Regions from separate parts of the Homo sapiens genome. Here regions 2, 3, 4, 5, 6 and 7 are each linked to region 1. Evidence: promoter capture Hi-C in 16 types of primary human blood cells and fetal thymus (Javierre and others, 2016). All regions are on one chromosome and are shown on one strand. The core of a region is centred on a gene start or on the middle of the fragment in contact, and the rest is flanking DNA. Distances in the headings are between cores, read along the strand shown. Region 1 holds the start of PGRMC2 (progesterone receptor membrane component 2). Region 2 overlaps SCLT1 (sodium channel and clathrin linker 1). Region 3 holds the start of INTU (inturned planar cell polarity protein). Region 4 overlaps SCLT1 (sodium channel and clathrin linker 1). Region 5 overlaps SCLT1 (sodium channel and clathrin linker 1). Region 6 overlaps JADE1 (jade family PHD finger 1). Region 7 overlaps JADE1 (jade family PHD finger 1).

Region 1 (4,306 bases), core at 1,023-3,522:
AAGAAACCTACACACACTAATTCAGCCCCAAGGTAAATCCTGAGGGTCTAAGCTACTGGTTCTCAACCAGTACCACACCTCTGGGGGGTGGGAGGGAAAAACGGTTGATTTACGGTGTCACAATGCCTGAGGTGTGGTACTGACATTTAGCTGGAAGGAACCAGAGATGGTAAATGTCCAGCAATGCTCAACACAGTCCTGAATAAGAATTAAAAAAGCCAGATAAACACTAGGCAATCATGGATGTCCCATGCTCCTTGTCTGTTACTGCTTTAGGGACAGCTAATAGCCCAGTTCTGGTCAATAAGATATAAGGAGTGGCCTGCTTCTGGGGTGCTTTCTTCCTTCCTATCAATGTTGTCTCAACTGTATACAGCTCTTGGGACTGCTACAGCTATCTTCTCCTCAAAACCAGTTTCTTCTTTATCTTCCTATTTCCATCACTGGCACCTCCCATTTTCTGTTACCAAGTCCTAAAGCAATTTTGACTTCTCCTAACCCTTAACCTTAAGGTGACTATTCCTTTAGGTTTGCCTGGGATAAAACTGATATAACTCCTGGTCTCTGGCTATAATTATTAATGCCCTACTTTACTTCCAAAAGTGTTCCATATTGAAGGATAGAGTATATGGTCATTTACTACCAATTGTGTCGCTCTCCCTCAGGTACCTCTAATGCAGGGCTCAGCAATATGGCTTATAAGTTGTTTTTGCACCTCTCCAGAACTAAAAAAAAAAAAATTTACATATTTCAATGATTTTCTTAAAAATCAAAAGAATATTTCATACCTGAAATTATATTAAAAATTCAATGTCCATAGTTTTACTGAAGACAGCTACACTCATTCAAGTATTGTCTATGGCTGCTTTCTCGTTACAAGGTAGAGCTGAGTAGTTAAGGCAGAGACTTAAAATATGATCGGGCCCTTTACAAAAAATGTTTGCCAACCCCTGCTCTAATGTCTCCCCTAGCTCTGAGTCTCCTCACCTCACGCACAAATACCCTAGCCTACTAACTGCTTTCCCACTCTTTCCCCAGCCTCTAATCCTTCAGACACCTGGTTGCTATACAGCCTCTCTACAAGAGTGTCGACCCTGTCACTTGCCTCGTCAATATCCTCAGTGACTCCTACAAAACCGACAGTGAAAGGTTCAAACCTATTCTATGAGACTCAAGACAACAGACAACAAAGGGCAAGAGAGAACACGTCAAACGAGTTCGTCAAACGAGTTGAGTGCGTGAGACTTCAGAGGTCACTTTTTCACACTAGAATTTCAAGGTGTGAGAGGCTAAAAGACGTCCAAGTACATGAAACAGAACCTGCAAATAAGAGTGAATGACGAATAGAAAGACCACCTCAACCTGTCCACTTCCCTACGGCCGCAGAAGTTATGATTCAAGGAATAATGAGACTCTAAATCCTTTAAAATTCTACAAGAGCAGCCTTTGCCAAACCCAGCGGGGAGTGGCTGCTCGGTGCCAGCGCGAGGAGCACGTAGACTGCCGATGCCAGAGAAGCCCGGTGCGGGTTCCGTGCTTTCTCTCCGTTCCAGGAAGACCCCAGCTCGTGGCCAAATCTTCTTGCCGCTTCCCGGTCTGCGCGCCTACGCTGCCGGTTTCCCGACAAAAGCGACGGCGCCCTGGTGAAAAGCAGACGCCCCTCATCGGTTTGCGCCTTGCAGCTCAACTATGCCCCAGCCTCCCACAAGCCACCTGCCCGCGTCCTCCGCCAGGCGTCCAGCCCGGACCTGCCCCCGCGGCCGCCAAGGCGCACGTGAAGCTCCCGGGCGGGGGGAGCGCAAGGAGGCGGGAGTTTGCGGACGCGAACGCAGGCCTAGGAAGGGAAGCGATTCCAGGGCGCACGCGCAGAGCCTGGAGACTGGGCGGGGCGTGCCTCCCGCAGGGGTTACGAACGAAAGGCGAGCGCGTGGCGCTCAGGAGCCCGCGCACGCGCTGTGGTCTCGCCCCGCCCATGAGCGTCCGCGCGGCCGTCGTAGCATCTTTTCTTCAGACCCGCCCGGCTCGTCTACTTAACCTAGCGGAGGCTTGGAGTGAGAGCAGGGAAGTGTGGGGCGAGGTGGGCGGGGCGTTGCACGCGTGCGCGGCCAGCGAAAGAAGGGAGGGGGCGGGAGATCCGAGACAACGTTACCCCGTCAACACCCAATCAGGAGCCGGCCTGACCCCGCCCCCTCTTCTCACGTTATTGGCTGAGAGGCCCCCAGATGGGCGGGGCCGGCCGTGGGGTTGGGGAGGGCAGGGGGCGGGGAGGAGGAGGAAGGCGCTGGCGGGCAGTGATGGCGGCTGGTGATGGGGACGTGAAGCTAGGCACCCTGGGGAGTGGCAGCGAGAGCAGCAACGACGGCGGCAGCGAGAGTCCAGGCGACGCGGGAGCGGCAGCGGAAGGGGGAGGCTGGGCGGCGGCGGCGTTGGCGCTTCTGACGGGGGGCGGGGAAATGCTGCTGAACGTGGCGCTGGTGGCTCTGGTGCTGCTGGGGGCCTACCGGCTGTGGGTGCGCTGGGGGCGGCGGGGTCTGGGGGCCGGGGCCGGGGCGGGCGAGGAGAGCCCCGCCACCTCTCTGCCTCGCATGAAGAAGCGGGACTTCAGCTTGGAGCAGCTGCGCCAGTACGACGGCTCCCGCAACCCGCGCATCCTGCTCGCGGTCAATGGGAAAGTCTTCGACGTGACCAAAGGCAGCAAGTTCTACGGCCCGGGTGAGGAGTTGGAAGGGGAGGGGAAGGACCCCCTGCAGCTGAAGCACAACCCCCTTCGGACAGGGAGGCCTCTGGGCACCGGGTTAGTTTGCCCAGCCTTCTCGTCTCCGGGACCCCCGCGCCTCGGCCGCCGCACCTGGGACGGCCCATCCCGCCCCTACACACACACCGTCCCCCCGCAGCTACGGGCACCTCCAGTTCTTCCCCCGAAACCAGGGTCCCCGGTGGCGCCCCAGAGACCAGCTCTCAGCATTCATCTTTCTTCCATCCCATTTCTCCTCGCAGCCTTTTTTTTTTGTTTCTTTGGCTGGATTTTTCAAAATCGTTTTAGTTGTCACAGGTCAACGCTGGCCCTTAACCTTTTTTGAGTCTCCTGATTCCTGGGATGGATGGGGCACCAGGGAAGGGAGATTTCTGAAGTTGGGACCTAAACTAAAGTTTTGGGCTCTGTAATTCACCGTTTTCTTTTCCTTGCCCCCTTTTTTTTTTTTTTTGCCACTGATCTCCTTTTTTCCCTCGCTGTATTACTCCGTAAGGCCACGTTTAGGGGCATGTAAAGTCCCAACCCTCCAGTCTCTGAAGTCCAGACGTATAAGCAACACCTCGGACTCTCTTTAAACCAGTTTTAGTTCGGAGTTGCTTTCCATGATTAACAAGGTATGTGGGATGAGAACAGACCAGAATGCAGAGCTTATTAAAGACTGGTAAGGATATTCACCTTGAGTTTTGGGGGTGGAGCTCCTATACCCAGCAGGCGTGTCTCTGGTTTCTTTTTTCTTTTTTTTTCTCTTTTCAAGTACACGTTGATAATGACTTGTGTTTTCACTTAGCAGAACTAAGGAGAAAAAACTTAGAAGAGTTGTAGATTTATACCCCCATGTGCCAGTTATGCAAGTTAAAGATTTTTAGAACTTTGTTTTGAGAGAACTTTGTTTTCAGGGAACTTTGTGTAGGGTAGTTGATTTAGACGCCCTTTTTTTACAGTGTGGTTGTAGCATACATTTTGGATTATGTTAATAAACCCCAGACTCATGGAACCTGTTGGTATATCATACAGTTGAGCAACATTGTGCATCCTGGTTGTGCACTGATTAATACTAAGCTTTAAAAAAAAGTGGTGACTACAATAAGAATAAATAATTAAATTAGAGACCTAAAGTGACCTGTTATTGGAGAGAGTACCTCCAAGCCTTAAAGTCATAGGGTTGGCAGTCTGGAAGTAAGCTGGTTTTCTCCTTAATTTAATCTGTAGGTGTATAAGATTTATTGACACTTAAAAATATATACTTCTGATTTCAGTGCTTGATAGCTGGAAGATATTTTAGAAGTGCTTTGGTTTGTAGTTTGTTCATTGGAATAGGGATAAGAAATAGGAGATTTTTGGTGTTGAATTATGTAATTTATTTCTTAGTTGTTTGTACTTCTGTGTATATATACACATTTAATCCAACCAAGTAAATACATAGCTTACAGAGTTTTTGCTTCTGGTTACATAAATGTGAACACAAGGTGTCTGCCTACTTATATCAACTGAAATGGTTAATACATTTTTGTTTACTTAAGCACACGTGGGACAAGAGAACAGGGCCAAAGT
Region 2 (4,306 bases), core at 797-3,296, 650 kb before region 1:
ATTGAAAAATTTATGTGTATACACACATACATGTAGTAATCCTTTACATACTGTAATAACAATTTTAGAATTCATAAATAAAAACAATTATGTAGAAGTTAGAAGGGATTATCTGAGTTTTGGGAATAGAGGGACCTTATAGTTGTCTTTTTAATGCTTTGTATCTTCCATCATTTTATAATATATATTTGTTTTGTTTTCTTTTTTTTAATCATGGGTGGGGATGGAATCAATGAATTTTCCCTATCTAGTACTCCAGTTGATCCGTCTTTAACATTTCACTTTAATGCTTTGTTATTTTCCATAATTTTACAATATGTATTTGTTTTGCTTTCTTTTTTTTATAATGAGTGGGGATGGAATCAATGAATTTTTCCTATCTAGTACTCCACTAGATCCGTCTTTAACATTTCAGGATAGTAACTGATGTTATGGACAACAAAAGAGTAATAGAAAGTTTATCTACCCCACATATCTCACCAAATCTGTATCTAGCTTAAGAGAATAGCCATTGATAAAGAGCCGAACGTCTTAACTAACTAGCTATAATTCTATTTTATGGAGGAAGAAGGCTGTAAGATAAATTGCTTTGTAACTGATTCTTTCTTTGACAAAATAGGAACCTGGTGCACCTACACCTTGCTGTTTTTCTCCCTCTTGCAAAAGAGTATGATCTTCAGTAGATAAACTGAAAGAAGCCAAAAAGATAAAGACAGTGAGATATTGGGAGGTCAGTTGGCTACAAACCTTAACAATTTATCATATGAAGTTTTCATTTGATCTTAATGCCACTGCATTGATTTCAGCCCTCGCTTTCTCCTTTTCTAACCACTCCTTTTGCCAGGGCTCTCCATTTCTTCATGGTCTAAATTCCGCCTCATTACCATCTAAAATTAAGAAATGGAGTCGTTTCCAGCAATTCAGTTATCTACTTGTGTGGATATTTCTCTGTAAAGGAAGGAAGAAGCAAGAAAGAAGAGAGACCATAAAACCCCTTTTCCCATCCAACATTCTGAATTTTATCATTAATAGAATTTTTGTAATCGGAGATCAGTTGTTGTGGCCCTTAGCCTGTCAGCATTACCACAGACCTGTCCAATTTAGGTAGTAATTCGAATTGTATATACTAAAGGCTATGGTGCTTGTTCGAGACTGAATTTTGACATCAAAAAGCCACCATTCAATCTGCAAATATGTTTTGACAACCGTACTGTGTTCCAAAAGTTGAAATAGGTAAGCAGAAAGAGATTATTTCAGGCAAAAGAAACAGCATGTGAAAAGAACCAAAGAATAAAAAGGCATTATAGTGGAAATAAAAGAAAGGCAAGGGAATAGTGTGGCACAACACAAGCTTGTAAAAGTAAGCAGGGACCAGGTTATCATAAAGGGTCTTAAAGCAAAGCTTGTGAAACGATAAATAGATTTTCCAAGTGAAAATGGGGAGTTAACTAGGCAGCCAAATTCTAAAACTGTACAGATGCATAGATCAGTTTTGTGTGCATATGTGGTTTGTTGTTGTTGTTGTTTTTGTTGTTTGTTTGAGAAGCTCTGTTGCCCAGGCTAGAGTGCAATGGCGTGATCTTGGCTCACTGCCACTGCCACCTCCCAGGTTCAAGCGATTCTTCTGCCTCACCCTCCTGAGTAGCTGGGATTACAGGCACCCACCACCTCGCCTGGCTAATTTTTGTGTTTTTAGTAGAGATGGAGTTTCACCATGTTGGCCAGGCTGGTTTCGAACTCCTGACCTCAAGTAATCTGCCTGCCTCAGCTTCCCAAAATGCTGGGATTACAGGCATAAGCCACCACACCTGGCCCATAGATCAGTTTTTAACATGTGTTCATAAGAAAGAACTCACAGGGGCTGTACTTTTTGTTTTCCACCTGAGATGTTAGACCAACATGACTTCTCCAGAGGAGATGAAGATTAAGGAAGGGAAGGAGAAAGGGCAGGCAATCTAAATTTGCAGAATCTAATAATTCAAAAATTATTAAGATAGCAGCAGGGGTCAAGTGGCCTCAGGAGGCTTGCACAGCAGTAATACAACACAAAACTAACACATCCAAGATTGGTTTTCCAGTGTCTGTATTTATAAAGTCTTCAATTTCTGCATGTGTACTATTTGAGAAAGCAAATTGAAGAGTTTTAGGAAGCATTTTGCATTTAGCAGGGGTGGCAAGGACAGAATGTTTGCAGTTTGCTCCAGTGAGCCAAGAATTTTGTTGTTGTTGGGCCTTGTTTTGTGTTTTTTGACACACTAAAGTTGATCTCATTGTTTTTTGAGTTTGAAAGTAACCGTATTTAATGAATTACTCTCATTGTTTTTTGAGTTTGAAAGTAACTGTATTTAATGAATTACTAGAAGTCTAGCCAGCTGTGGACATTTGTAAAGCAATTAAAGTATCACAAAATAAGTGTTCTTTATACTTCTTTAGTATAGCAAAATATAGATGGCCTGAGAGTACAATAAGGAAGTCAAATCACCTTGCTGCCTTTTTCCACAAGTGTTTTTCATCTGAACCACAAAACATAGAAAAATATTGCAGTAACTTTTTTCTCAATTTCCCCAAAAATGGTACTTAGGTAGTTACATTGTAGACACAGATGAAAGAACGCAAGTCATTATATACATTGGATGCCTTAAAGCATTAGGGCTTAATTCTCTCCCTGAACCCCAGCAGAGAAAGCTTCTAGGGTATCCAAAGAGCATTTACTTATAAGTTCATGCTGCAATTAAAGTGCTTTTACTATAATGACATAAATTCTTAGAAGTGTACTGAAGACATTTTCGTAAGAGATTTTCAAAATCATTGTTTATATTGTCTCTTTCTCCTGAAAAATAATTCATTCATTAATCATTCACTAATACTGGAGCTGAAGTGGTAAAGAAATTCCTGTATATAATTATCTTTGACTTTACAAAGCCCTTTGAAAGAGTTTCAAATTTAGTATGTAAGTCAAAAGTGGTTTGAGTAAATACTTAACTCAGATACCAACAGCATCAACACTTTCCTTGGATTCTGGCAACAGAAATCAGAGTAAATAAAGAGAGAAGTGTTATGTTATAATAAATAGACTTTTCTTTTACTGGCATTTTAAGGTGTTAGGGAAAGTGTTGCAAAAATATATAGTTCATCATAATTCTAGTTTTACTGACATAACATTATAAGTTTTCGTTTGTAATGAAGACCAATTGTAAACTTAATTTCTTTTTTCTTTTTTCTTTTTTTTTTTTTTTGAGACAGAGTCTTACTCTGTCACCCAGGCTGGAGTGCAGTGGTGCGATCTCAGCTCACTGCAACCCCCACCTCCTGGGTTCAAGCGATTCACCTGCCTCGGCCTCCTGAGTAGCTGGGATTACAGGCGTGTGCCATCACGCCCAGCTAATTTTTGTATTTTTAGTAGAGATGGGGTTTCACCATGTTGGTCAGGCTGCTCTCAAAACTCCTGACCTCGTGATCTGCCCACCTTGGCCTCCCAAAGTGCTGGGATTACAGGCATGAGCCACCGCACCTGACCAAACTTGATTTCTTACGTAGTTTTCTCATCCAAACATTTTTGTCCCTCAGACAACATAATGAATGATTCCTTTTGTATATATCATTGATCTGTATAGCACCTATAAGAAAAGAAAAAGAAAATACGTTTTCATTTTATTCTTTAGATCAGTACAATGGAACATGAATTTTCAATAAAGGAACGTGGATTTGAAGTTCAATTGAGAGAGATGGAAGACAGTAATAGAAATTCCATTGTTGAACTGAGGCATCTCCTAGCGACTCAACAGAAGGCAGCCAATAGGTGGAAAGAAGAAACGAAGAAACTTACTGAAAGTGCAGAAATTAGAATCAATAATCTAAAGTAAGTCTACTGTTAGTTGTTTGACATGTTTTACAGAAGAAATTCTTTAACCTATAGTTTAATGTCCTTGCCATAATCTTTTTTAAAAAATGTATAATTCTGGACCTTACCTTTTTCTTCAGTAAATATTTATGAAACTACTATAAAAATATTATGTCATAAACCAAAGCAAATATTATATTTTTTACAAATTTCATGCATGTTTCAGAAAATGTAATAGTTTTTGTTGGATATATTAGTTTAGATAGTTGCAACAAAATCTATTTCGCCTGCAAAGCCTGAAATATTTGTTCTCTGGCCCTTGAAAAAAAATTCTCTGACCCTTCCTCAGATGAACTTGAGATTTTGTGTTGAATGAGATGGGAAGCTCAAGAGCTTCAACATAGGAATGAGATCAGAGGGCTTTGAGCAAAGTGATGTGATCAGACTTAAATGTTCAACAGATGA
Region 3 (4,306 bases), core at 703-3,202, 660 kb after region 1:
GAGATTAAGCCACAAAGGTCACACCAAAGAATCAAGACACTGCGATCGAAACAGAGTTTTTTGAACGCTGTTACAGATATATCCTCCTATGGCCTAGACAGAGCCCATGACCAAAAAGAGGAGATTCTCCTCATCTAAGAATCATTGAAAAAACAAAACAAAACAAACAAAAAACAACCTACAGTAGCAAAGAATGGCATCGTCATTTCTGCTCACACCACCATACAATGGAACGTGGTGCAATTAAATCCCACTTATTATAGAACCCCAAATACTCGATTCCAACCACGCCAACACCCTTGCAGTTCCCCCAGCCCACGTGTATATTCTCTGGATTGATGGGATGGGATTAATTGTCCCTCTTTGAAAACCTTACTCATAATCGCTACTCGCTGAGGAATATGAACCCGAGTCGCTGACCCGATCTTCAAAATCATAGTCCTCATCTTCTTCTTGTGAAGAGGGGTCTCCAGGGAGCTCGTCTGAGCTCGGACGCGAATCGCACGAAGCCACAGAGGCCATCGTCAGGAATGCAATAGCTACGAGTGGAGTAATTCAAATCTCGCAGCTATAGCTTGCTAAGGCCGCCATGTTGCCTCTGCTTGGGAAGGGGCAGAGGCCATGTGACCACCAATCCTTAGCTGCAATTGGTGGCAGGTCGCGTTGCCAGGGAGACGGAGAAGCTTCCCAGAAGAAACAGGGAGAACAGAAAGCAGCCAATGGGCTGAAACTTCCAGGAGGGCTTCTCAGTTGGAAGGATAGAAATAGCTAAAACTTCACCGCTTACGCTCTCCGGAACGCAATTCCTTAGAGCAGCATAACCTGTTAAAACAGGCGGAGATGCACTGGGCTTCTCACCTTTTTCTTCCAGTGCTGGATATCCAGTTTGCTCTTTGTCCTGTGTTTCTAATGCCTAACAGCTGTCGGTCAGCCTGGATTTCCTTCGAGGTGAAGGAAACCGCACTTTACCTTTCCTTAGGACCTCATCCGTGCAAGTAATGGACGCTTTTAAGCAACGCGATCTAGGTGTTAATGTAAATACGCTCCATTGTTTTATGGGTTTCATATTGTTTCGCAATTGCAAACATTTTCACGGTTATCCCAAGTGGGTATTGTAGAGTGCCACAAATGAGTGGCAATCCTGTGGAATCAACTTCATGTTCATTTTCTAACTCAAAATTTTATAATCTAATTAAGTGTTCTCATTATTAAAGTTGGAAGTGTAAACAGGTAAAATCTACCTGTTATTTATGAATACCTATATCAAGTATTTTTTAAGTACAAAAATAACAGCTAGCATTGATTGAGAGTCAGCCTTGGCTCTGCTCACTTTATTCATATACAATGCTGAGCATTCACATACTATGAAGTAAATATTTTCTCTATATTAAATAAGGAAACTAAGCTTTAGAGAAGTTATGCATCTTACTAATGGTTACATGGCTAGCAGTCAACAAAGTCAACCAAGAAATGAACCTAAGTCAATAACCATTACATGAAATTTCCTCCCTCAGAACCCAGTAATTCAACTATTAGATATCTACTCTGAGAAAGGATGCAAATTTATAAAATTTGTAAAAGTGAAAAGCTGAAAGCAATCTTAAAATGTCAAATAATGGGGGAAAAGTTAAATATATATAAAATATGATGATTATGATTTTAACTAGAATGTGTTCAAAGAGTAAAGCATGGGGGAAATGTTCATGTTGCAGCGTGTAAAAAAAGGATATAATGTTATTTTATGATCTAAAAGGCTGGGTGCTGGGGATTCTCTAATGGGCAATTATAACATAGTGATAAGTATTACAATAAATACAAGGTTCTAATGGAATATCCAGAAAAAACCAAAGTAGTATACGTGGGGCCATGACAAATTTCTTAGAGGAAGTATTAATTTATATTGTTATTATGGCATGGTTCCAACAGAGAAAGAGTAATGGGAGATGAGTCATCACATGGCCGGTATGGGTATATGCATGGAGAACTCAAAGGAACCTGAATTGTAGCTGTTGCAGGGGCAGAAAAACTCTACCTCCATCTTCTTAGGGTCCCAGCTGGGCCTGAGAATTAAACTTACCTAAAATAGATTAACAAAAGAAAAGCAACTGGAACTTGTTATACAGATGTTGAGGCCCTGCTCCACATCAACAGGATCAGAATCTCCAGTGGAGGGGCCTGGAAATCTCTATTTCAAACAAGTGCCCCCTGTGATTCAGCAAACTTGGGGAACTGCCCTAAATTTTCTCTCAGTTCTGTGCTTCATCTATACAGGCCAACTGGCCATTCCCTGAATAGGCTGGAACCCACTCCCACCTCGCAAATTTGAGCCTGGCAGACAGACCTCTCTCCTTGCTCTAGAATCCAAGTTTTACATGGCAGGGGAGCCCTCATAAAGAAATGAAGACCCAAAGAAGCAGTTAGAGTCAGTTAACTTATATACTGGATTGGACAAAGAATAGTTAGTTGTGAAGAAGCAACTAAACTAAATTGGGAAGCTTAAAAGATAAGTTATTTTAACAAGGTCTGTACAGAATTCTCTTGGTTTCACTTCTATGCCCTTGAGAATAAGAATGTTACATTTTTCTAGTATAGGGAGGGTGTCTTTCACATGGGAGCTTCATCTGTTGCTTTTAAGAAGCAGCACAAAGGCACTTGCTGTTTTTCAAGTGTATTAAACTTAAATGGCCAGGATAGTATATTTTACCTTCCTCACAGCCAAACAAGCTGCAGTATGCAGCTTATACTTTTAAGCTGAAGTTTAGTTGTATTTACATTAACTGTACATTACATGTACAAATATACATTAAACTATGTACATTTGAATTTGTATATTACATGTACAAATGTACATTAAACTATATACATTTGAATTTCCTAGGTTTTATGGTTTTGTTTTAATTTCTAAATGTGTTTTTATAGTGTTATAACAGCGATTACATTTTGTAATTTATTTGTATTAATTCATAAAATTGTTTTCATCTTATATAGGAGCTATAAAGCACAGATTATACCTCATTTATTTAAAATTATAATTAAAAAACTTAAGTCATCCATGGAAATCCACAATAGTTTTTCCTTAAAAGAGGTCTATATGTTACTAAAGTTGAAGAACAGGAGGAGGAGTTTGTAAAGGGGTAATGGGCAAAAGGAGTGTCAGAGGCATTTGAACCAGAGCGACTCCATCTTGAATAGGGGCTGGGTAAAATAAGGCTGAGACCTACTGGGCTGCTACTCAGGAGGTTAGGCATTCTTAGTCACAGGACAAGATAGGAGGTCGGCACAAGATACAGGTCACAAAGACCTTGCTGATAAAACAGGCTGCGGTAAAGAAGCCAGCCAAAACTTACCAAAACCAAGATGGCTACAAAAGTGACCTCTGGTCATCCTCACTGCTCACTATACGCGAATCATAATTAGAGTACAGTGAGCAGTGAGGATAATGAGCATTAGTTGCTAAAAGACACTCCCATCAGCATCATGACAGTTTACAAACGCCATGGCAATGTCAGGAAGTTATCTAATATATTCTAAAAAAGGGAAGACCCCTCAGTTCTGGGTACTACTCCCCCTTTCCCAGAAAACTCATGAATAATCCACCCCTTGTTTAGCATATAATCAAGAAATAACTATAAGTATACTCAGTCAAGCAGCCCATGCCGCTGCTTTGCCTATGGAGTAGCCCTTCTTTTTTCCTTTACTTTCTTAATAAACTTGCGTTCAATTTACTCTATGAACTTGCCCCGAATTCTTTCTTGGGTAAGGTCCAAGAACTCTCTTGGGGTCTGGATTGGGACCCCTTTCTGGTAACAGGAGGTCCTTGAGGTGGTAGGAGGGGATAGCATCCAAGGCACAGAAGGAGGGATATGACCTCCCTGGACACCTCTTCCCTAAAACTAGAAGAAAGAGCCAAAGAAGGGTGCTGGTGTGGATGGTGACTTGCCAGTTTCAGGCAGGAAGCTGAGGCAGTCTCCATGTGACAGTGTTTATCGTCTGGTAAGTAGGCTGCAACCTTGCCAGCTGAACGTGATGGAGGAAGTAATGGGGTCGGAAGTTTGAAGAAAGTGGAGACAGGAAGGAAGGGAAACAAATATTTCCATTAGCATTGAGATCCAACAAAAAATGTATTACTTTTAAAATCAGAGAAACAATATTATTTTAAAAAGCTGGAGTCCCTATACTCATTATTTTGAGTTTCATGGTAAAATATATATGCTTACTTTCACCACAATCTTAAACATTAGAAATGATTTAAGATTCCATTTCAAAATAAAAAGTGCTTTAGTTACCTCTTTAATAAGTTAACCTT
Region 4 (4,306 bases), core at 987-3,486, 630 kb before region 1:
CTGCTGGATTCAATTTGCTAGTATTTGTTGAGGACTTTTGCATCTATGATCATCAGGAATATTGGCCTGAAGTTTTCTTTTTTTCTTGTGTCTTTGTCAGATTTTGATATCAGGATGATTATGGCCTCATAGAATGAGTTAAAGAGAAGTCCCTTCTCCTCAATTTTTTGGAGTAGTCTCAGTAGGAATGGTATCAGCTCTTCTCTTACATCTGGTAGAATTTGGCTGTGAATCCTTCTGACCCTGGGATTTTTCTGGTTGATAGACTTTTATTATTGATTCAGTTTCTGAACTCACTATTGGTTTGTTCAGGGATTGAATTTCTTCCTAGTTCAATATTGGAAGGTTGTATGTTTCTAAGAATTTATCCATTTCTAGGTTTTCTGGTTTGTGTGCATAGAGATGTTCATAGTAGTCTCTGAGGTTATTTTTTTTTTGTATTTCTGTGGGGTTAATAGTAATATCCCCTTGTCATTATGATTATTTATTTGGATCTTTTCTTTTTCTTTATTAGTCTAGCTGGTGGTCTATCAATCTTATTCTTTCAAAAACCAACTTCTGGATTTGTTGATCTTTAGTATGGTTTTTTGCATCTCTATTTCCTTCAGTTCAACTCTGATTTTTGTTATTTATTGTCTTCTGCTAGCTCTGGGGTTGGTTTGCCTTGTTCCTCTAGGTGTGATGTTAAGTTGTTAATTTGAGGTCTTTCTAACTTTTTGAGGGCGTTTAGCACTATAAACTTCTGCTTAACACTGCTTTAGCTGTGTCCCCAAGATTCTGGTATGTTGTATCTTTGTTCTCATTAGTTTCAAATAATTTATTGGTTTCTGCCTTAGTTTTATAGTTTCCCCAAAAGTCATTCAGGGGCAGGTTGTTTAATTTCCATTAATCATATGATTATGAGCAATTTCCTTAGTATTGATTTTTATTTTTATTGCACTGTGGTCCAAGAGTGTGTTTAGTATGATTTTTTTTTTTAATTTGCTGAGGATTGTTTTGCAGCTGATTGTGGTCAATTTTAGAGTATGTGCCATGTGCAGATGAGAAGAATGTATATTCTGTTTGTTTTGGGTGGAGAGGTCTATAAATATCTGTTAGGCCAATTTAGTCAAATGTCCTGTGCAGATCCTGAATATCTTTGCTAGTTTTCTGATTTGATCATCTGCCTAATACTGTCAGTGGCATGTTGAAATCTCCCACTATTATTGTGTGCTTATCTAAGTCTCTTTGTAGGTCTCTAAGAATTTGCCTTATGAACCTGGGTGCTCCTGTGCTAGATGCATATATATTTAGGATAGTTAGGTCTTCTTGTTGAATTGAACCTTTTACCATTATGTAATGTTATTCTTTGTCTTTTTTGATCATTATGGGTTTAAAGACTGTTTTGTCTGAAATTAGAATAGCAATCCCTGCTTTGTTCTGTTTTCCATTTGGTTTTTCTCTTTTCCTTTATTTTGAGCCTACGGGTATGTTTGCATGTGAGATGGGTTCCTTGTAGATCACATACAGTTGGGTCTTGCTTCTTCATCCAACTTGCCACTCTATGCCGTTTAATTTGGAGCATTTAGCCTATTTACATTCAAGGTTAATATTGGTATGTGGAGGTTTGATCCTAGATCATACATTTGGTCTCTTTACATAATCCTATATTTCTCAGAAGCTTTATTCATTCTTCTCTGTTGTTTTTTCTTTGTTTTTATCTGAGTTATTTCAGAGAAACCAGTCTTCAAACTCTGAGATTCTTTCCTCAGGTTGGTTGATTGCACTGTTAATACTTGTGATTGATTGTATTATGAAATTCTTGAAGTGAGTTTTCCTGCTCTATCAGTTCAGTTTGGTCCTTTCTTAGAGTGATCATTTTGTGTTTTATGTCCTGTACCATTTTATTGTATTCCTTAGTTTCAAAGTTTGTTTCTGACCACTCCAATATCTGTCATCAGACAGATCTGTTTCTTTTGGTTCCTAAGCATCTTATCTGGTTTCTCTATCTATTTATTAGTAATTGCCATTGAAAATTTTTGTTGTAAAGCTTCCATAGAGAATCTTTGCCTTTGCCTCTTCTGGGTGCCTGAGAGCACTACTGGGTGTGAGAACTTCAACTAAGGGTGGGGTTTCTGGGCTTTGTTAATTTTGAGGTGTATCTGTGGTCTGTGGCCACAGAAGAATACGTTTTTTCTTCTGCTTTGTTCATAACCAAAGTAGCTTCCCTGTAGTCCTGTGACTTTGAGAGAAGTGGCATGCTTTCAGATATGGTTCACTTTAACCTTGAAGTGATGCTCTTTTGGGATGCCAGATCAACGATGGAGAGGATCTCTCCACCACACCCCTTTCTCTCAGTGGTAACAGGGTCAGATCCCAAGTGTGCAGTATTGTAAATGCCATCCAGGAAAGAGGAAGTATTGGTGCTCCAAGATTCTGTTAGCTTTTCTCATTATAAGCTTTCATTCAGAAGTTGTCTTGGAACATTTTCACTATATTTTCCTCTGTTTGATGCTTTTACAGAGTTGTGGAGTTTTTACTGAATTGATTAATCTGAATAACTTAGTATACCTTTACTAGATCCAAACATATATTCTTTAAAAGTATCCCACCTCACTTAGCACAGTAATCGAGAACTTGGCTTCCAATAATTATTGTCCCATACAGAGTTTACATATGTCTGTGGTCAATTACAGCATCCTGGAAATTGAAATGGACTGTGGCTATAAAATAAATTATCAGAACTATTGCTGGGGATTAGTATCAGGATCATTAAAACCAATGTGGCACTTAAATAATACATAATAATTAAGAAACAGTAGTTGATCTTAATATTATTTCTTGACTAAAATCAATATGTTGTGTACCATTATATTTTAACTATATTACTTTGTGTGAGATGGTGAGGCCAGATGCAGATCAAGAGAGAGAAAATGGAAAGAGTTTTACAGTTTGTTATGCTCACAGTTCCCTGGACAAACACAGCACACCACACAGGACCACTCGAGAAGCACTGGGGTCAGTCACGAGGTAGAAGGTGAAGGGGGCAACTGTGAGCACACATTTTATTGTGGTTTTTACAGAAAGGAACAGGTGACGCCATGGTGAACAAGTTTTAGATTGGCTGATGTGAACAAGTTCAGTGGGCTCCACGGCGTAGTGGCTGTTTCTGGTTTGGTTGGTTGGTTGGTTGGTTTTTTCTGGTTCCTGGCCCTAGAGTGATTACGGCAGATGTAGTGGCCCAGAATGTGACAGCCCAATAAGGGAAGTGGTTGGAGTTGTACACTCAGCTTCTCAAAACAGGAACTGACCAGCCTCTTTGCCAGGGTCTCAGAACTAAGTCAAGACATTTAAGTCTTGACAAGTCAGAACTAAGTCAAGACGTATAACTATACTATACCTTGAAGCAACTTATAGTATAGGAACCTAAGCCTATGATACAAGGACACATTGCTCTAATGGACCAAAAGTGCCTAACTTTGATTTGTTTTTACACTGTGTTGAAACGGTAGATGAAAAAGTAAGTGTCTGTTGCATTGGCTGAAATCTTCAAAACATCTTGAAAAAATGTACCGTAATTTTTAACTATGTTTCTTCCTTAATGATGGACTGCCTGTGCTGAGGATGTCCTGTAAAGACTTCAAGTCTTTTAGCTTTTTCGTCAGTCAGTATGCTTTGGTGATTAGAAACTGTAAATCTACTCAGAGAAAGCTTCTGCCACTTGGCAGATATTTTGGGTCAAGTATAAGAGAAAGGCAGTGCTACTCCTTTATTGGTTTCATTACATTTGATTTTCCCATTGTTTTCAGAACAAAAAAAAGTAACAAATCAATTTGGTTTAATGTCATTTTTGTGTTAAAAATAACATGTAGACTATTAAAATGATATATATTAACTGCAATAATAGAAGCTCATTAATATTTTATATACTTGCTTTAACGTATTCATACACTTACCTGAAAATACCCAAATCTGCTCTGATTCAGAATTTTAGTATCCCTGTAAAAGTGTTCAGCAGTATTATTAGCATCTTGGCTGTCCATCTTTTCACTCTATCAAGTTCAGAATTATACCTTGCAATTTAAAATGTCTAATACTTCAGTCTGCAGATGTATACAAATGGATCCAGAAACAAAAGCAGATCCCTTAAAACTCAGTTTAATTTATATGACAACTGAGTGACCATTCTTCTCCAAGCATTCTGCTAAATGCTAGAAACACAAGATGAATAAGGCTTTGCCACTAAGAACTTATTCTGTCCCATTGCCTATCTTTGTTTCTCCTAGCATTCATCACTGTCAGTAATTATGTTTTATACTTGTTTCAT
Region 5 (4,306 bases), core at 637-3,136, 600 kb before region 1:
AGCTTTGAACATCAGTGATTCATCATATGTAAATAATAAAAGGTAGAGCTCTTATTTCTGTTTTACCAATAGAACTTGTGTAGTATTTCAGAGAACGTATTAGGATCCCCTTTATTCTTATGCATCTCTAAAATTATTTTTTAACCCATTCATCTTTTTTCATTTTAATCCATCCCAAAAGACACATCACATAAAAAATACTTTTGCCTACTGGAATATATTAAAATATATTTAGATTTATGCCTTAGAACTAAATATAGCAAGAGTTCAAGTTTTTTTCCTTGAGGCATTCAAAAAGTAAACAATTTTTGGATTATGATTGAGGCTTTTTAGATCTCTTCATTTGATGTTCTAACTTCAAATGTTTGTTGGAATTTCTCTGAATATATGGTCTACTCCATCTTTGTGGTCTACTGTAGTAGCTATAGTGAAATCGTTACTCCTAAGCATCATGGCATTATGAATTGATATGAGCCATTTAGAAGTTAATTGAGGAATAGCCATTGAAATAATCTTTCAGGTAGCTCCCATTTCCAGATATCTATTCTAATGAGTAATTTAAAATACAAAAAAAATTTGAAAGAAGGTACTCAGTACAGTAATGTTAATAATATAGGAAGATCAAAAGCAACCAAAATGATGAATAGAAAAGGAACAGTTGCATATACTAGGATTTATCCAATCTGAACTGTTCCTCAACCATTATGGTAGCAGTATAGAAGAAGTTGCATTATATGAAGTCTGCGTATAAATATGAAAATGATTATTACAGATGATGGAATTTTTTCCCCCGTTTTCTCTAGCATATGATGTGCTTCTTAAAATTTAGAGGCTACATATTTAAACATCTTGGTAAATTGGACCAGCCAATATAGTTCTCTTCATAACATTTAATTTTGCTTTTGGGCATAATAAGAAATATAATAAGCTCATTTTAGCAGGATACTGTTATTTCAATATTTTATATTACTGTAATAGCCATAACATTCATTCTTATCACTTGTATGTTAGGACATGGGAACTATAAGTTTCTGGTTCTTCATAGAAAATGTGTTTTTCTAACTCTTCCTGATTAGGCTTGTATTATTATCTCATTCAGATAAGTGCCAGAAAAACTGTTTAACAATTCTAGTTGTACAAAAATATTTTTTTCAGATGTACTATAACCAGGCTAGTAAGTGTGGAGAGAGCTAATCCATTTTTTAATTTCCATTTTTTAATTGATAGATTATTTGCACTTGTCTGTCTGACAGTATGTTGTGACAGCTTTGTATTCATGATGCCTGTATAGTTCTTGCCATAACAAAGTATTAGAAACTGGGTGGCTTAAACAACGCAAAATAATTGTCTCTTAGTTCCAGAGGCTAGAAGTCCAAAATTGAGGTATTGACATTGTTAGTTCCTTCTGAGAGCTGTGAGGGAGAATCTGTTCCATGCCTTTCTCCCAGCTTCTGGTAGCCTCAGACATTCTTTGGCTTGTAGATTGTGTTCTCTCTGTGTCTTCAACTTGTCTTTCCTTTGTACATGTGTGTCTCTGTGTCCAAATTTCCCCTTTTATGAAGACACCAGTCATATGGATTATGGTCCACCCTAATGATCTCATCTCAACTTGATCATCAGCAAGGACTCTCTTTCCAAATAAGGTCACATTCCCAGATACTGGGGGTTAGGACACAATTCAACCCCTAACAGTGCCTAATAGCTCTTTTGACCCTAATAGACTCTGGAGTATGCAGATGTCTTGGGGAACATACAGAAACAGTTCATCCCACCCCTACTAAAGCTCTGGTTGTAAGGCCCAGCAGTCTGTGTTTTCACAGTCCAGGTGATTCTGAAGCAGTGACCTTCACAAATTGAAAGTCTTATTCTTCCGAGTCATTTTGCTTTGAGATTTGTTAATTCACTTTCTTTGCTGGCATGTGGGAGAAAGAAAACAATTTATTAAGAATGTAAAACAAAGTTTGTATTTTAAAGCTCATAACTTGAAAAATGTAAATTTGGAGATAATATTCTTTGTATTTTATAAGTGGTAAAGTGATGTCCAGATTTTTCGTTGATTATTCCACAAAACATCTCCATGTCACATATGGATTTCTAACTTGTTTTCTATTTCCCCTTAATAGAATGAAAAGCTAATTCTAGAGCATCAAGAAAAAGCCAACAGACTTCAAAGGCGTCTAAGTCAGGCAGAAGAGAGAGCTGCTTCAGCTTCCCAGCAGGTAGGGAGCATCCTCTTATCCCTAGATAATAAACAGTTCAAAGATAAGTTTTTTAGAAGTTCCCAGGGAACTTAATAGTTTATTTTTACTAGATTAACATATTTTAAAATTAATCCCTTTAATATGTGAGGTTGAAAAAGTAAACATTGGAAACAAAAATAAGCTATGCGTGGTGGCTCGCAACTGTAATGCCAGCAATTTGGGAGGCCTAGGCAGGAGGATCACTTGAGGCCAGGAGTTCAAGACCATCCTGCAAAACATGGCAATACCTTTTCTCTACAAAAAATTTTAAAAATTAGCCAAATATAGTGGCGCATATCTCTGTTTCCAACTACTGGGAAGGCTGAGGCAGGAGGATGGCGTGGGCCCAAGAAGTCGAAGCTGCAGTGAGCCACGTTTGTGCTACTGCACTCCAGCCTGGCGGACAGAGTGAGACCCTCACTCTGTATCAACAAAAAAAAAAAAAACAGAAAAGACATATACTGTCTAACAATCATAGCCTCTAGCCACAGGCCACTATTTATATTTAAATTAATTTAAATTAAATTAAATTTAAAATTGAAATCATCCATCATACTAGTCAGATTTCAAGTGCTCAATAGCTGTATGTAGCTAGGGCTATCACATTGGACAGCATAGATGTGGAACATTTCTGTCATAACAAAAAGTTCTGTTACACAACACTGCTCTAGAATTATGTCCTATCTAAAACCAGGCAGAGATTCACTAACAGATTTGAAAGTAGATAATATTGCTTTGAATGTAATATTTCAAATTTCACTAACTTTGTTTTTATTTTACTTATCAGTGGAAAAAAATTCCTTGGCTTACAAGTTAATTTACTTAATGCATATTTTCATATGACCAAAAAAATCTAAAATACAATATAAAAGTTGTCCAGTGGGAAATAGAGTAGAAAATGCAGAATAACAATGAAATACTAAGGGATAATTTCTCTTAATACACACACATCATATAAATGAAGTAGGCCCTTGATTGTAAAGTAGGAGCAATAGTCCCTCATATGAGGAACAAAATGAGACCAGTTCAGTGATTATAGACTAGACACAGACAGTTGAAATGGATAGATAGATAGGGGAGGCGAGAAAACAAAAACAAATCAAATTACTATATTATTAATTATATTTGCTTATAAATGTATTATTTCAATCAAAATTAATATTATTCTTAACTATTACAGCATTTTATACATAGTAAAGCCACTCTGCTTGCTGAATTCAGTTTATGTTCATGATATTTACAGATTTTTTTGAATCTACTTCTGTTATGAACATGGCATGCCACTTAAAGAAAATTTAATAATAATTTATCCTTCTGTTACTCTCCCTCTTGAAAGTAATTACAGCCTTTTCAAATAATTTTTATGTCTTATGAAGTTATGAATTAACTAATGGGTTAGCTAATTATGCAAGAATGTATTTAGGTTATAAGGTAACAGAAGTTAGGTGCACTGGACAGTATCTGGCAAGTATGTGTTTTGGTGTCAGGCAAATCGCTTAGTGCCATTTAGTGCCATTAAGTAAAAGCTTGTGACTTTGGGCAATTTCAACTTCTCTAAGCCTCAGTTTCCTCATGTTTAATATAGGATAATAATACCTCCCTCATACGGTTATTAAAGGATCAAAAGAATTAACACATGTAAAGCATTTCCTATAGTGGTAAGTAGATATTTAGACAGATATGTAAGAAATTAAATTTCTGTATCATAATCCTTAAAGCTTCACGTTTACCTTTTTTAAGGCAAATGGCAAAGAAAACGTCTACGAAAATCAACTACCTTGAGTTCTATAGTAAAAAGGGAACGATTACAGGACATTAATTATATAACCAGTTAGCATCTAGTTTAGTTTCTCCCCTGAAAAAATTAAACCTAAACAGTCTAGTACTGATGTTTCTTCTGTTGTTTAAACTCTCCAATGGCAAAGATTCCACCGTTCTTTTGACTAACCTTTTTAAAATGTTTTGTCAGTAACCACTTCACGAATTGTTCTGTAACAAATCTTTCCCTAAGCTTTTCTCCTTCCATTCTGTTCTTATTTGAAGATGGAAGGTAATTATTCAGCACT
Region 6 (4,306 bases), core at 798-3,297, 580 kb before region 1:
GCAAATAACACAAACTTCTCACAAAAATGATTTAAAAATGACTCTGGAAAAAAATTAATCTGAATTGCAAGTAAATGTGTTTGTGTAGCTCAGGATTAATGGGTTTCTGCTTCTCCCCCACATCAGAGCTCTCCTCTAGCAAACCCAATGACGAGCCCAAAGGGCTTCCGCATCATCTCTGTTGCATCAAGAAGCCAAGATGCTTCTCCTGATAATGTCTGTCCTTCTGCTGATAGTGCTGCTGGTGTGTATACATTTCTTTTCTGATGCCTCACTCTCTGAGTCACTCATTTCCACATCGGGGACATACCCGTCATTCTCATTGTCGGATTTTAATTTGCTTTTTGCCCTTTCCTTGGCTGGAACTCGGCCTAAGCCCAAATATGGGTAGTCTGAGTGCTGGTGGCAGGCCCCATCGTGGGCCTCTCCCTGCTGCTGCCGTTCCCCCTTCTTTGGAATCCGGAATCCTCCCCAGTTTTTCACTGGGCTGGCAGGTGTTGTAGGCACTTTGACTGCAGTCTGATTATAGTTTACTTTGATTAGGGAGCCATTGCACTTGGGCACTATCTCCTTCCTTGTGCCAGGTGCTGACTGCCCCACTCCAGGGGAGGTGGCAGCTCTTGTGTTGTCCAGATGCCTCTGGGACACATCTGTGGACCTGAGAGGCTTGTGACTCTGTTTAAAAGATTTGTCCTTTAAGTCTCCTTTAATGAGATCACAATGAAAACGATTGTCTCTTCTTTTCCCATGGTCTGGCATCACCACACCATTTTTCTGTTGTGCTGATATGAGACGTGCTTCTGCAAAGGTCTTTTCTAAACCCAAAAAGCTCTCTGGGACCACCATCCCCTCCCTTCTACCACACAGGTCTGGCTGCTTCAGCAGGGTTTTGCCTTCACTTCCAGGGCTATTCTGCAAAGGATCTCGCTTATGGGGCTTTTTCAGCGAATGAACCAAGGAAGTACCCATTTGTTTTCTGAAGAATGCAGAATGCCACTTCAAGTCCTCTATCTTGGGAGCATCAGGGCCAACAGAAGGACTGTTAAACAAAAGCATGTTTTCCAGTGAGGAGGAGGAGCAGGAAGAAGGCACACCTATAAACATAAAACCACAAATAAAGAAAAATTACAGCAGAAGCAAATCCAAAAGAATAAAATTCTACACCCTTAGTGTGGCCCAATTGATGTGAACTCCCCACCCAACAACACAACACTTACACCACCAAGTTTGTACAAATTTGGTTTTTATAGTGAAGAGATGACCTGCCTTGAGAATCTCCATTCAATCTGCAGACTCAATATGCCACATTTTCTAAAACAGCTGAAGCTCACATAATTTTTCATAAAACTAGACCTCCTCCAAACAAAATAACTGATCTGATTTTCAGAGCGGACTCCATGCAGAACTCATCAGGTGGCTGATGGCTGCCTCTGCTCCCTCTACCTGGTTACAGAGCAGCACCTGCGCCGCGCTCCTCCACGGTCCAGTCTTCTGCCTCCCGTACGAGACTGAGAGGACCCAAAAAGCAGGGCTCGGGGCTTGTAAGTTTCTCTATGTGTCTGTACCCTCACAGGGCTATTACGAGGACAAGTACATGTAAACATGTGAATGAATAAAGGAAATGTGTGAAATAATTCTTGACACATAGTAAGCGTTCCAAAAATGTTCATTATTATTATGTGCAAAATACATTTGTGGGATTCAACTGAATTGTCATTCAACTTGAAGTAAGTTAAATTGATGTTTTTCGTATTTTTTGATGCAAATCACAGTGACTAAATTCCACAGCATGACCTAGTAAGAGTTCACATTTCACGAAATAATATTAACCCTCATCATTTGATAATGTACTCTGACATTTCCTATTATACTTTACTTGTTTTTAATACTGGTCATGACCCACTGAATTCATCTCACAACCCACTAATGAGTTGTTACCCCTAGCAGGTGAATTCATAACACATTAGTGTTTGTCATAAAGACCATGATTCTACAACAGCCTCAAGATCATCTAGAAAGAGCAGTTCTCATGTTTTCTGTCTCCCATAAGATATGAGCCACCAAGAAAACAAGGTTCAGCCCCCAGGTTATGAGACAGGAGGCCATATGAGAACCTAGTGCTCACCAGACACAGACACTGCAAGCAAATGAAACATAGCTAGCGACTCAGAACACAGAGCTGTCATGACCACAGGAGGTGTTTTACAACCTGCTGGTTTGGAAATGCTGCTTTCTCAAGAATCAATCATTAGAATCAACCTTCACATCACACTGCATATATTTCTTTTACTCAATCACCTGCCACAGGAAAAGAGAATGGTAAGAAGAGGCTAACATTTTCTGAACTCTGATTTCTATCTCCTTGACTGTAATCCATGTCTCTAAAGAGCCTCCAACTCATGACCCTCCCACCCCCCATAAGCACTGTTGCCACTGAGGACACTCTCAGCAAATGACCCTACCCACTCTCAGAATCACAGAGTTTAAACCATGGACCCTAAATGACATATAAATCATGACCATCTGCTCTACTTCAGGCAGGAGACAGCCTTTAGGCATGAATAAGAACACGACTGAAGCCTAGGACTGGAAAAAGAAAAAAAGCACCCTAAAGGGTTTCAACTGCATTACTCAACAGAATCCTACAGGAAGATAAATGTTTTCAACTGATCATACCTATGGTTCTTACATCAGAATGAAAGGAAGATTTGTTTTCCTTTTCTGAAATAGTAGGACTTCTGAATGCAGATCTACATTACAGCTCTGTTACCACAAAATAACTCCCAGACTTATTAAGAATATCATTCGCTCACCCAGTAAAAACCTCAGCCATGAAATGCAAAAACCTGCCTGCAATATCCATGAGAAATAACTCAAATGAAACCAGATGAAAATGCTCTTTACGGCTTATTTTTACAGGGAATCACTCATTACATAATGACCTAAGAGTTGCAGAAAGCCCTCCAATGGCACAACTCCACAGGCACAACTTGTATTAGTGATCCCAGCTCAGCATTTGCTGCTGTAGGCTCGGTGATCTGCACCAGACAGTCTTCCAAGGCAGTTAAACAGATCTCATTTATTTGTATTCAGGTAGGAATCATGAAGAGAGAGCTCACCTTAGGGAATCTGAATCGACCTACTTTTACATATGACACCCTACTTAGAAAATTTATTTTTAAAATCTTAACAATTAAACTGCAAGTTCCAGCTAATGATATACACTTGATTCACCTGGAAAATACTTAATCTTGGGAAGAAAATATCTAGGATATCAACAAGTTATTGCATTCAAACTATGTAACACTTCAAGAACATTATTTAAACCTCCCTAAACCTTTTTTTATTTCTTCAGATGACCGAGCTCCCTCTAGTCGCACATAATTGGTTAGATAAACCAGAATTTGGATTTCAACACAACAGGTTATAACAACTTCTTTGTTCTCTGTGCACCATAATAATCTAGATGGAGTGACAAAAAGCCACAAATGCACAAAAACAAGAGTGAATCAACTATGATTGCACAACGCAAGCACCAAGAATGGTGCAGCTAGAACTTTAAAGGGCAGTCCAAGGCAGGAGAGAGGCTGACTATCTTCCAATGAAGTCCAGTCTAAGACCTACCTGTTCCATGGGTCCCTAATTCTGCCTGATCCACACTCAGCAGCTCTGCTTCTCTGAAATCCTTATACTACCTACTTTTGGGGGCTTATGATCACAGAATATAGGGCTCAAATGCACTTAAGGGGTCTTGATTCTAAAACAAACTTTAAGATCAACGGAATCTCAGAGAGGTTAAACAACCTGCCCAACTTGATCTTTGCCCTTGATCTCCCAAGTAACTGATGTGTTGTCCAGAGTAGAGGAAGTATATACCCTAGTTTTCTTTTTCTGTTTGCCTAGCCCAGGGCAATATAAAATAGAAGACACTAAATAAATATTTGGTGCTCAATCTCAGAAATAGTCAACAATCCATCTACACAAAAAAAATCTACTGTGAACATTATCTAAAAATGGACTGTGTCTTAAGTACAGTCTTAACATATATTGACCATATTTACCATGTTACAGATAGAGCCCAAGGCTGAATATAAACCTGTTAGGTATCCCCATGATGTGTTTACCAAGTACTGTGTAATATATAAGTCACTGTTTCATTTTAGTCTCTCAATTCCAAGAGGTAGCTTGCGATATCTCCATTTTGCACATGAAGAAATTAGGGAGACTCAAAAGACTTTCATGTGTTTGCTCAGTAAGCAGAGAACACAGGATTCCACCCATATTTATAGAGGGCAAATTCATAGCT
Region 7 (4,306 bases), core at 763-3,262, 560 kb before region 1:
CAATCTTCAAAGGGGAGAGTCTTCCAGGAAACTGTTATTTTCCTATGGTCAGGTAGTGAAGATGCAGTGTAGTAAATGGAAAAGCAAAAGGTAAATTTTAAAAGGATTCAAGGATATTAAATACATACATTGTTGAATAAGTCATTTCATTATACTCATTACACATAACAACTAACACGTAAGTGACTTCAAAACCATGACTTCATATAATGGTATGGATGTTTTTAAAAATTTGCCTTTCTTGGTAGGTAAAACAGTTCTCTCAAAACAGATTTCACTTTGGGCACTCAAATATTTTTAAATGGTTTATCCCTCCTCATCCTCTTACTTCTACAAGGTTGAAAAACATAGTTAACCAAATGCAAAAAAGACTGAAACACCAGGCGCGATGGCTCATGCCTATAATCCCAGTACTTTGCAGGTAGATCATTTGAGGTCAGGAGTTCACGACCAACCTGGCCAATACGGCGAAATCCTGTCTCTACTAAAAATACAAAAATTAGCCAGGCATGGTGGCAGGTGCCAATAATCCCAGCTACTTGGGAGGCTGGGGCAGGAGAATCGCTTGAACTCAGGAGGTAGAGGTTGCAGTCAGCCGAGATTGCACCCCTGCACTCCAGCATGGGCCACAGAGCGAGACTTCATCTCAAAAAAGAAAGAAAAAAAGACCAATAACAGCTAAGACAAACATATTTAAGCATGCGTTCCGTTTATGTTATAAAATTACAAAATTAATCTTGCCAATGTATTCAACAGTATCTTCAAATATGGATTAGCCCAGTTCTTATTATTTAAACCATTCATAAATGCGAAGAGTCTTTGGGCTGAGTCCTCTGACTTAACACAGGACACCTAGATTCCAGTCAAGTGTATTACACTGGTCTTTATAATGTGCTTACAACACAGCAGAAACTGTATCATCTGTGAAGCTAAAATTTAGTATTCAATTCCAAAAGATCTCTGAGAACTCCTGAACTCATGCCATAAAACCACCTTGTGGCCTGCTAATGTTTTGGCCATTAATACCTAAAGCAGGACCAAGAAGAAGGAAGTCTATTTTGTCTATAAAAACACTTGAGTAACTGAGCGAGTAGAAGACAACACCATGCTCAGCTCAGTCTACATTATCACTCCCATTCAACAGGTGGTGAGCCTAATGGCAGGACAAGCATCTACTGCAAGCCACACCCTATGCTACGTTCCCTGGAAAGACGCAAAAGGTCTTGGCCCTTCAAGGCTGTGAAATCCACCATGACAAAAATCTTGTGATTTTTTTTTTTTTTTGAGATGGAGTCTGGCTCTGTTGCCCAGGTGGGAATGCAGTGGCACAATCCCGGCTCAAGGAAACCTCCACCCCCTCAAGTGACTTGAGAAGAATCACCTCAAGTGATTCTTCTGCCTCAGCCTCCTGAGTGGCTGGGACCACAGATACCCACCACGACGCCTAGCTAATTTTTGTATTTTTAGTAGAGACGGGGTTTCACCATGTTTGCCAGGCTGGTCTTGAAGTCCTGACCTCAGGTGATCTGCCCACCTTGGCTTCCCAAAGTGCTGGGATTACAGACATGAGCCAACAAGCCCGGCCGATCTTGTGATTATTTACTATGTCCTAGATTACAATACATGGCCCTTGCCACCACCTCCCCACCGTGTACCTACAGCACAAAAGCTAATTAATCCTCACAGTTTTTCACACTGAGCCCAGACTTGACTCCACTGTCTTGTTCATCAAGACCCTCAAGGCAACCCTTAGCAATCAGGACTGGCATGTGAGATGAGACCTATACGCCATCCCAGTCTCAACACCATGAGATGCTCCAACGTCTACATACGCTAAAATGAGCTTGCAGAAAAGAGGTGGAGAAGGGCTGGGCACACAGCTAATGTCAGGCTTCACTGAAGGAAAGCCAGGACAGAGATAAACGGAGGGAAAAAGAACTCCAGGTTTGCAGCATGACATAAGGAAAATCGCTCAAGTTAAAACACACATGATGTGCTTGGAAATGGGGAGCATGCCTGGAAGAGTGTTCATTTAGAGAAGCAGCAAACCACGGCTAAAGAAGGAATCCGAATGGCATCACAGGAAAAAAACACTAGAGCAGGTAACTGTGGGCCATGCCCTTTTGTCACTTCGTTTCCCTGGACTTCAGCTTCCTTAAGGTAAGTGAATGAGGGAGTTAGATCAGAGCGGGGATGGGAATCCCTGGTGCCTGAGCCGAGGAGCCTTGCTTCCACTCTGAAACCATCTCAGCACATCTGACACAGCCAAACAGGCTGAGATCTAAGGCAGGGCTGCGATTCTCACTGACTAAAGCTATGATGGAGCTGCCTGCAACTGGCAATAAGGAGCTTTCTGCTACTCACCTACCTGCCTAAAATGTCTCTATTCATCATTGGTTAATAAAATAATAGAATACATGGTCTCTCACCCATCTCCTTAAATTCTTCATTGGTCAGTTCCAGCCATGCAGCATCCATGTCATTGAGGTCATAGCGACACACGCTGTCAGCCAGCGTCCGGATGTCCACATAGCCCAACTCGGGAGGCTCAGAGCCTGATGACACGATGTACTTCTTGGGCCTGATGAACATGAGGGATTTCTCTTCAGACACAACCCTGGATAATAAAAAAACAAGGCAGCCAGGTTACCCTTTCAGCCACAGACAATGAAGTGTGCCACAAGGCCCCAAATGTCTTCCTCTTCCAACCCTTAGAGCCCCAGGTCATCACCAGAGGCTGAAAACCTGAATGTCACTGCTAATAAAACCTTAACTAGAAGTTGTTAAAGCCTGCTAACAGGCAATAGATACAAATGAAAACACTGTAGAAGCCTTCAAAATCTGCTTCCCGGGACCCTGCTGTGCCCTGCCCACCACCTCTGACCACTCTGGCCTGCAGCCAACACCAAAACACACTGACCCATACATTTCAAGAGTTAGTCATTAAATCACTTTCCCTTAACCAGACCTGCCCATCCCTGCTGGAGGCCATTAGAACCAGGGCACCACACAGGCAGGGCAGGCGCAGCAGACTCTGAGAACCAGAGGGAGAAACCCGCCAACCCTCACACCTCACAAAAAAAAAGAGGGAGAGAGGGAAAAGAAAATCAGGCCTTGGGCTGGGGCAAGGTGGCCCAAGCCTGTAATCCCAGCACTTTGGGAGGCCGAGGCAGGCGGATCATTTGAGGTCAGGAGTTTGAGACCAGCCTGGCCAACACAGTGAAACCCCATCTCTACTAAAAATACAGAAATTAGCCAGGTATGATGGCACACGCCTGTAACCCCAGCTACTCGGGAGGCTGGGGCAGGAGAATTGCTTGAACCCAGGAGGCGGAGGTTGTAGTGAGCCAAGATTGCACCACTGCACTCCAGCCTGGGCAACAGAGTGAGACTGTCTCAAACGCAAACAAAAAAAAGGAAATAAGACCCCGGCCATTACCAAAAAATCTAAGAAACAGAGTCCCAGCCAAGAAGGGGACTGACTCTCCCAACATATACCCATGATCCCAGGAACAAAAGCACAAGTTTCTCCTCCTGGTACTGCCACACAATCTCTCCCGACCTTTAACACCTGGAGTGGTGCCTTCCAACTCACCCCACTCAAAATAAGACTGCATGTGCAAGAGCAAATCACTCCCGACTTGGAACCAAAAAAAGGCCATCTTCCTAATCACAGACCCCAGGCCTCAACAAAGTCCTTCCACATATGCATTTCCACAGTTTAAATTACTGTCAACAGGCTGCCCAGAGTCTGTCAGAGTACCTTCATCACCCTTATATTACGGGAGTGATTTTATCTACGTGACACTGACATGGACAAACTGAAGGGATTTATTTCTCCTACTCAGCCAAGAGCAGGGATCCAACTTGCTCAGGGCTCCAACTTTAATACAGCTTGTAAAACTTCCACAAGCTGTATTAATGCTCACTTCTGTCCTGGCTCCCCACTGAAAGTGAAGCATTCAGCAAGTGATTCCTGGACTGGGGCTGCCAGTGCTGAATCAGGTGATGCTGCATCTCAGACACAGGCTCTGAGGCAGATACCTGGTCTGCCCCGCAGGGCCCCATGACCACTCCATTCCACAGGTCCAGACTCTAGCCTGTGGGGGCCATCCTGGCACTCCTGACTGGTCACCTAAACCTGAGTAAGACAGGGGCATTTGTCACCACTGGATAGACTCCCCAGAGATCCCAAAATGACAACTCAAATTTGATAATCTTAAGTGCCCAAAAAAAGAGACACAAAGTGGGTGAGGGCCAGGAAGCAAGTTCAGTAATGACTCAGCGTGGAGAAAGACACTATTTC

The links. Contacts are between HindIII fragments. The CHiCAGO score rates a contact against its expected background, and 5 or more counts as called.
Region 2: a fragment that was not itself captured here is called in contact with the fragment with the promoter of PGRMC2 in region 1 in 1 of 17 cell types (neutrophils); the score reaches 5.6 in neutrophils.
Region 3: a fragment that was not itself captured here is called in contact with the fragment with the promoter of PGRMC2 in region 1 in 1 of 17 cell types (monocytes); the score reaches 5.4 in monocytes.
Region 4: a contact is called between a fragment that was not itself captured here and the fragment with the promoter of PGRMC2 in region 1, in 6 of 17 cell types (total B cells, naive B cells, monocytes and 3 more). The highest score is 13.0, in total B cells.
Region 5: a contact is called between a fragment that was not itself captured here and the fragment with the promoter of PGRMC2 in region 1, in 1 of 17 cell types (neutrophils). The highest score is 6.6, in neutrophils.
Region 6: a fragment that was not itself captured here is called in contact with the fragment with the promoter of PGRMC2 in region 1 in 17 of 17 cell types (neutrophils, total CD4 T cells, fetal thymus and 14 more); the score reaches 11.0 in neutrophils.
Region 7: a fragment that was not itself captured here is called in contact with the fragment with the promoter of PGRMC2 in region 1 in 13 of 17 cell types (non-activated CD4 T cells, naive CD8 T cells, naive CD4 T cells and 10 more); the score reaches 10.7 in non-activated CD4 T cells.

Annotation. Positions count from the first base shown.
Region 1 is chr4:128,285,779-128,290,084 of GRCh38, reverse strand. PGRMC2 (progesterone receptor membrane component 2) reads left to right here and starts at 2,272. Exons shown (of 3, transcript NM_006320.6): 1 at 2,272-2,712. The coding sequence starts at 2,295. RefSeq lists silencers at 977-1,271, 1,643-1,832, 2,153-2,332, 2,343-2,392, 2,573-2,632. The HindIII fragment of the contact is 4,970 bases long and covers 1-3,816 here.
Region 2 is chr4:128,936,208-128,940,513 of GRCh38, reverse strand. It overlaps SCLT1 (sodium channel and clathrin linker 1), which reads left to right. Exons shown (of 21, transcript NM_144643.4): 18 at 3,663-3,859. Among named protein-coding and RNA genes, the nearest start is that of JADE1, 130 kb to the right of the region's middle. The HindIII fragment of the contact is 1,283 bases long and covers 1,405-2,687 here.
Region 3 is chr4:127,629,251-127,633,556 of GRCh38, reverse strand. It overlaps INTU (inturned planar cell polarity protein), which reads right to left and starts at 600. Exons shown (of 16, transcript NM_015693.4): 1 at 377-600. The coding sequence starts at 522. RefSeq lists enhancers at 571-750, 413-952. The HindIII fragment of the contact is 1,090 bases long and covers 1,408-2,497 here.
Region 4 is chr4:128,915,870-128,920,175 of GRCh38, reverse strand. All of the region lies in intron 18 of SCLT1 (sodium channel and clathrin linker 1), which reads left to right. Among named protein-coding and RNA genes, the nearest start is that of JADE1, 110 kb to the right of the region's middle. RefSeq lists an enhancer at 2,955-3,004. The HindIII fragment of the contact is 409 bases long and covers 2,032-2,440 here.
Region 5 is chr4:128,886,592-128,890,897 of GRCh38, reverse strand. It overlaps SCLT1 (sodium channel and clathrin linker 1), which reads left to right. Exons shown (of 21, transcript NM_144643.4): 20 at 2,124-2,219. Among named protein-coding and RNA genes, the nearest start is that of JADE1, 79 kb to the right of the region's middle. The HindIII fragment of the contact is 3,764 bases long and covers 5-3,768 here.
Region 6 is chr4:128,868,143-128,872,448 of GRCh38, reverse strand. It overlaps JADE1 (jade family PHD finger 1), which reads right to left. Exons shown (of 11, transcript NM_199320.4): 11 at 1-1,094. The coding sequence ends at 187. Among named protein-coding and RNA genes, the nearest start is that of JADE1, 61 kb to the right of the region's middle. The HindIII fragment of the contact is 4,763 bases long and covers 1-4,306 here.
Region 7 is chr4:128,847,291-128,851,596 of GRCh38, reverse strand. It overlaps JADE1 (jade family PHD finger 1), which reads right to left. Exons shown (of 11, transcript NM_199320.4): 5 at 2,430-2,617. Among named protein-coding and RNA genes, the nearest start is that of JADE1, 40 kb to the right of the region's middle. The HindIII fragment of the contact is 9,059 bases long and covers 1-4,306 here.